2 separate regions of the Homo sapiens genome follow, and region 2 is linked to region 1. The links are contacts of gene promoters, found by promoter capture Hi-C in blood cells and fetal thymus (Javierre and others, 2016). All regions are on one chromosome and are shown on one strand. Each heading gives the region's core, a stretch centred on a gene start or on the middle of the fragment in contact. The rest is flanking DNA. Distances are from core to core; before and after follow the strand shown.

Region 1 (3,112 bases), core at 444-2,943:
GTGAAGGACAAGCTTAAAAGGCCCAGAAGCAGGCAGGACCCAGGGAGGGGAGGGCCTGAGAATAGTGGAGGAGTGGGAGCCATGGGGCAGGAACCCTGACCCTCCCATCCTCACTCCCATCAGGACCGTGCAAGCATCAGTAGATCCGTCCTGACGATGCAAATTATGTGGGCCGGCTGGCTTGAGGGGCTGTAAGAGCACAGCAGCTGGGAGGGCAGGAAGATGGGGATGGAGCCAGGTGTGAGGAGAACTCCAGCAAGGATGGGAGAGGGGCCCCAGGGCATAAGCAGCGTGTCCTGAGGGGAGTGGCCAGCCTGGGGCGGACTAGATGTACCGGGAGGCTCACCCAGCAGGTCCACGAGGATGGAGTTGCCCAGCAGCAGCGAGAAGCCCATGAGCGCCCAAGGCAGGAACGGTGCCTGGAAAGTGAGCAGGCCGAAGAAGTTGACCCTCACCCGAGGGCTGCGGCGGCTCCACACGTACACCAGCATGGCCATGAGGGCCTGGCCCAGGAAGAACAGGCTGCCCAGGAGTCCCAGCAGCTGGGCCAGAGTCAAGGTGCTCCGGTGCAGGCCTCAGCCCAAGCCCAGGGCCCCTCTGACTTCCCAAGACCCTGGAATTCTTCCCCTCATCTCCCCTATGTGCTATTCCCTCATCAAGATGAGCCAGTCCAATAAAGGCGACACACTCCACGGGCTTCAGGTCCCACGAAATCTGCCCTGCACACCTACAGCCTCATCCCAGGGCCCAACCACTGCCTGTCCCTGCCCCAGTTTCTCCCGGCTACTCGCATTCAGGGCTCAGCTAGTGGCCCTGACAACCCACCTGGCTCTTTTGTGCATGGCTTTGTATTTTGCATACAGCACTGAAGATCTAGCCCTGACCCCTGCAGCTGAGCACAGAGTGGGCCCTCAACACATACTAAGCTGGAGACAGCGACTGTGTCCCTCTCTGGCATGGCTGTGTTGGCCCCAGGACCAACACAGGCTGGACGCCGAGGCGCCCTAGCCCGAGGTTCCAGAGCCTGCGGGAAGGATACGGTCATAAGGACGCCCCCGAAGAGAAACATGAAGACGAAGTCGGCCGTGCGGCCGCGGAAGGAGCCCTCTTCCAGCATGCGGCAGTAGCGGAACCTACGGCGTCGGTATAGGAAGTGCCACCAGGCGGGGCCTCAGTTTCCCCGTCCCGGCCTCTCTCCCAGCCCGGCCGGCCTGCCCTCCACCCAGCCCGTGTCCGCAGGGCGCAGGATACACGAAGAGCATGTTGAAGAAGAAGCTGAATCCCAGGGGCCCGAAGAAGAGGAAGTTGGTGACGAGCCTCCAGACCTACGGGGGACGGGCGGTCAGGTGCGGGGTGGGTGGGTCGGGCCCACAGGTGCGCGGCGCGGGGCGGCCTCACCTGGAACTTCCGGAACACAAGGTGCGGGTTGAAGTAGAGTTGAAAGGGGCTGAGGAGCTCCAGCTGCTGTGGAACCAGGGGCCAGTCAAGAGCTGCCCGGGAGCCACGCCGTAACCATGGCGACCCTCACCCCTCCCGCCAGAGGCTGTAACCAAGGCGACGTCCGGTCCGCCCGGCCGCTTACCACCGCGGCGGTGGTGAGGACACAGGCTGCGGTGTAAGCCCGCGTCACCGCCGGCACCTGCAGGAACTCGGCCGCTAGTCCCTGCCACGCCATTGAACCTTCTCAAGCACGCGTGGCCCAGCCAGCAACGCGCTCTTTAACCCGCCTCCCAGCCCCGCCTTCGGCCAATCCGCATCCGAGGCGCTGCGCGCCCCAGGCTGAAAAGAGAGCCCCTGAGCCCGACAGCCAATGGAAGGAAGAAGAGGGAAATTAGGGGCGGAAAGGGAGAGTGGGCGGGTAGAGGCTGGTGGCCAATGGGCAGGCGCCAAGGTTGAGCACGTGGCGGTTGTTGTGGCTGCGGTGGTGGCGCGGGAGAACGTGTGGCCAATGAGGAACTGGTCATTTCGCGGCTTTCTAGGAGAGGACCAGTAGCGTGGACCCACGACACCACGGGGGCGGGGCTAAGATCGTATGGGTTACAGGAGCGAAGACCCGAGCAGGCGAGGCAAAACTGGAAAGGGCGGGGCGCGTGGGCGGGGCGCGGAGTGTGGCGGCTCAGACCGTGCTGGCTCACTAACTGACGACCTAGCCACAACGTTGTCCTCGCTGCCAGCCCAAGACAGGCCCACCTAACCCACAGCAGGGAGGCATTCGGGAATGTGTCCAAACCTCCCCAAACGTCCAGGGCCCCACTCAAATGTGCCGGCCGCTGTCGGGGTTCTTCCCCGGGGGCCCAAGGAAGGAGAGGCAGGACTGCGGGATTGAGTCCAGGTGGGGCGCGAGGGTTGAGAGGCGCACCAGAGCAAGTGGACAGGCAGGAGAGGTCCTCAATATTTTGGTGGAAAATAGAAACCAACCTACCCACCTTCCTTCCCTCCTTCCCTCCCTCCCTCCCTCCCTTCCTTCCTTCCACCGTTTATTAAACAACTGTTTGCCTGACACTGTTCTAGATGTTGGGGATGTAGCATGCAATAAAAGACACTGTCTCTTAGAGTCCAGCCAGGAGGCAGTCAATACAATAAGCTAGTGCTGACACTTGATGAGAATATTGCCAAGTGAGGGGTGGGGCCACGTGGGCGTCCGCAGTGCCAGGTGGGGTGACCTGGGATACCTCTAAAGTTTGTCACTTTGCAAGCATCCCTGTGTCCATCAGGATGGTAACTGTGAAAAGCAAAACAATAAAACAAAATAAGTGTTGGCGAGGATATGGGGAAATTGGAACCCTTGGGCACCGTTGGTGGGAATATAAAATGGTGCATCCGCTGTGAAAAACAATATGATCATGACTCAAAAAATTAAAAATAGAATTACCGTATGATCCAGCAATGCTGCTTGTGGGTACACATTCAAAAGAATCAAAAGCAGGGACTTGAACAGATGTTCATACACCCATGTTCATGGCCCCATTATTCACAATGGTTCACATCAGTTCACCCACCGATGAGACAGACGAAATGTGCTGTCTACATGCAATGCAATACCATTCAACCTTAAAGGAATGAAATTCGGATACATGATGCAGCATGGATGACCCTTGAAGACATTACACCC
Region 2 (3,156 bases), core at 465-2,964, 210 kb before region 1:
GCACTTGTGCTGGGCATGCGGGTCCACATTTTTGGGGGAAAACACACATTTACAAACACTACACATTAATTCACCCCTGGCTATCTCCCAACCCTCATGCACACAAACCCACATCATCTAAATGACACGGCTGTTTCCAGGGACTCTAGTGGATGATGACAGTTCTTCACTGAGCCATCTGTTTCTCACACTGCACTCCAGGTCCTCACTCCTATCAGGAACCTGAAGCCAGGCAGGCTCTCCAGACAGAAGCAGGGAAGAGAGTCCCCTGCGAACCATCACTTAGATTTGTCATCAGCAAAGGAGTGGTCTTAGAATACGTACGGTGTTAGACAGGGAATGATACACACTGGGGCCTGTCAGGGGGCAGGGGAAGGGAGAGAATATGGATAAACAGTTAATGCATGCAGGGCTTCATACCTAGGTGATGGGTTGACAGGTGCAGCAAACCACCATGGCACACTTTTACCTACGTAACAAACCTGTACATCCTGCACATGTACCTCGGAACTTAAAAAAAATTAAATTAGGAGCCGGGCGCGATGCCTCATGCCTGTAATCACAGCACTTTGGGAGGCCGAGGCGGGCAGATCACCAGGTCAGGAGATCGAGACCATTCTGGCTAACACAGTGAAATCCCGTCTCTACTAAAAATACAAAAAATTAGCCGGGCGTGGTAGTGGGCACCTGTAGTCCCTACTCAGGAGGCTGATGCTAGAGAATCGCTTGAACCCAGGAGGCAGAGGTTGCAGTGAGCTGAGATCCCGCCACTGCACTCCAGCCTGGGCAACAGAGCAAGACTCCATCTAAAATAAATAAATAAATAAATAAATAAATAATAAATAAAATTTACAAAAAATAAGCTACCTTAAGAGATGGAAGAAAAACAATCTGACCCTTAGCTGGTTCCTTCATTTAGGTACCAAACCGGCCAGATAGGTGAGGCTAGAGAATGGGATGGGGACTCCAAAATTGGGGTATTTGAATTTTCATTGAGAAAAGGGCTCTCCCTTTTCTAGATCAAAAAGTCTCAACGACAAAGACAGGAGGCAGAGTCAGCCTTTGTCCCCCATGCCCAGACCTGGGAAAGCTGGCTATGGACAGGAGGGAGCTGGAAGCTGAGGATGTCTCTGGGGATGAGGGTAAGGGAAGGGGGTGGGGGTGGCCAGAGGTGTGCCAGAGGGTAAACGGCACCCGTGGCTTTTTTACCTGTGGGCATCTTTTGGTTGCTGATGTGCTGCAGGTCTTGGCCCTCCGTGGCTCCCACATCCAGCTTGCCAGGCTCTACAGTAGTGGATTCTGATGTTGCAGCAGCCACAGTCTCATAAATATCAGTATCAGATTCATAACAGGGTGCGTCCTTCCCCCTGGGCCAGCCACAGTGGGAGTTGATACAACAGGTCAGTATATTCCCCATGGGGCCTCTCCATGCCTCTCCACTCCTGCCTCAGCCTTCAGCGAAATTGTAACTGTGCTGCCCTAGCAGCCACACTACTGAGGGTGGCCCTGCACTTTTAGAAGCAGCCTGACCCCAGGCAGATCTGGGTCCTCAGCCCTTATTCTGCCGCCACCTCCCAAACTAGCTGGTCTATGAGGTCAGGGACCTGCTGTCTTCTTTGAAAAATAAACGAACATGACAAGCACCCAAAGGTGCAAAAACTGCCATCAAAGAGCACAGTTGGAGCTCCTCCTCCCTCCACTGCGAGCTACTGACTGAGGGCTGCTGGCCCTGGCTGATGCTTATAACCCACAAAGCTTCCTATGTCACCTGGTTACCAGGAAACAGCCAGGTCAGGCTAGTGACTCACAATGTCCAGCCCCACAGCCCCCCCCAATGCCTCATAATGCCTGTCCCTGCTGCTGCCCACCTTGTGGCCCCCCTGCCCCTCTGTGGGGACTGCACTACTCAGGCTTTTATTCACCCTATGCTGCCTGAGCTTTCCAGTCCTGAGCTAAGTGCAGGGGGAGTTGTTATTGCGAGTCACCCTTGGCAAGAAACTCAATAGAAAACCCTGGTATGGCCGGGAGTGGTGGCTCACGCCTGTAATCCTAGCACTTTGGGAGGCTGAGCGGGGGGGGTGGATCACTTGAGGTCAGGAGTTCAAGACCAGCCTGGCCAACATGGTGAAAACTTGTCTCTACTAAAAATACAAAATATTAGCTCGGCCTGGTGGCGGGCACCTGCAATCCTAGCTACTCAGGAGGCTGAGGCAGGAGAATCGCTTGAATCCAGGAGGCGGAGGTTGCACAGTGAGCCAAGATCACACCATTGCACTCCAGCCTGGGTGACAAAGGTGCAACTGTCTTTAAAAAAAAAAAAAAAAAAGAAACAAAAGAAAGAAAACCCCAGTTACTAAAGTCAGTTCCACCAGCAGTTCTGTTTTTCTGAGTCTGACAGCTTTCATTTGCTCACCAAATGTAGTTATACACAAATTTTTTACTGCTTTTCTAATTAAATGCTTCTCTCCTGTCTTACAAGTGTTAGTTCTTGTCTGCAACTTGACCATAGCTACCCCCAGGGCCCTGGTCCCACTCTCAATAGAGAGTTATGGCTGTGTATCCTCAGTGAAACCCTGGGACACATCACACTTCCCTCCTCGTCTATAAAATAGGGACTGAACACATCCTTCCCAGTTCTGTAATGCTACGACCTACCAACTCCCTTTTCTCGCTCTGTTTCTTCTTTCCATGGCAGGGGTATTCAGATATTTCTTTTATTTACTTATTTATTTATTTTTTGAGATGGACTATTGCTCTGTCGACCAGGCTGGAGTGCAGTGGCACGATCTCGGCTCACTGTAACCTCCACCTCCCAGGTTCAAGCGATTCTCCAGCCTCAGCCTCCTGAGTAGCCTGGACTACAGGCACACGCCACCGCATCTGGCTAATTTTTGTATTTCTAGTAGAGACGAGGGTTTCACCATGTTGGTCAGGCTGGTCTTGAACTCATCTCAGGTGATCCACCCGCCTCGTCCTCCCAAAGTGCTGGGATTACAGGCATGAACCACCATGCCCAGCCTCAGGTATTTCTTTTACTAACAAATCATAAAACATTATTTTCTTATACAAAATTGAGAACCCCACAGTGGGGTACCATTGTCCTCATAGGACAAAGACAAATAGTCAATATCTGGCAAGCATTATGTGCCTGACAGT

What was found. The method cuts DNA at HindIII sites, captures the fragments that hold promoters and counts their contacts. A CHiCAGO score of 5 or more calls a contact.
Region 2: the fragment with the promoter of DRICH1 here is called in contact with the fragment with the promoter of DERL3 in region 1 in 1 of 17 cell types (naive CD4 T cells); the score reaches 6.0 in naive CD4 T cells.

What each region holds. Positions count from the first base shown.
Region 1 is chr22:23,837,313-23,840,424 of GRCh38, forward strand. DERL3 (derlin 3) reads right to left here and starts at 1,694. Exons shown (of 7, transcript NM_001002862.3): 1 at 1,583-1,694; 2 at 1,399-1,464; 3 at 1,252-1,325; 4 at 1,040-1,133; 5 at 347-542. The coding sequence starts at 1,675. SMARCB1 (SWI/SNF related BAF chromatin remodeling complex subunit B1) reads left to right here. Exons shown (of 9, transcript NM_003073.5): 9 at 1-697. RefSeq lists a silencer at 1,617-1,919. The HindIII fragment of the contact is 14,043 bases long and covers 11-3,112 here.
Region 2 is chr22:23,630,607-23,633,762 of GRCh38, forward strand. DRICH1 (aspartate rich 1) reads right to left here and starts at 1,715. Exons shown (of 12, transcript NM_016449.4): 1 at 1,210-1,715. The coding sequence starts at 1,417. LOC124905089 (a long non-coding RNA gene) reads right to left here. Exons shown (of 3, transcript XR_007068021.1): 3 at 2,270-2,304. RefSeq lists a silencer at 2,754-2,891. The HindIII fragment of the contact is 16,342 bases long and covers 1-1,753 here.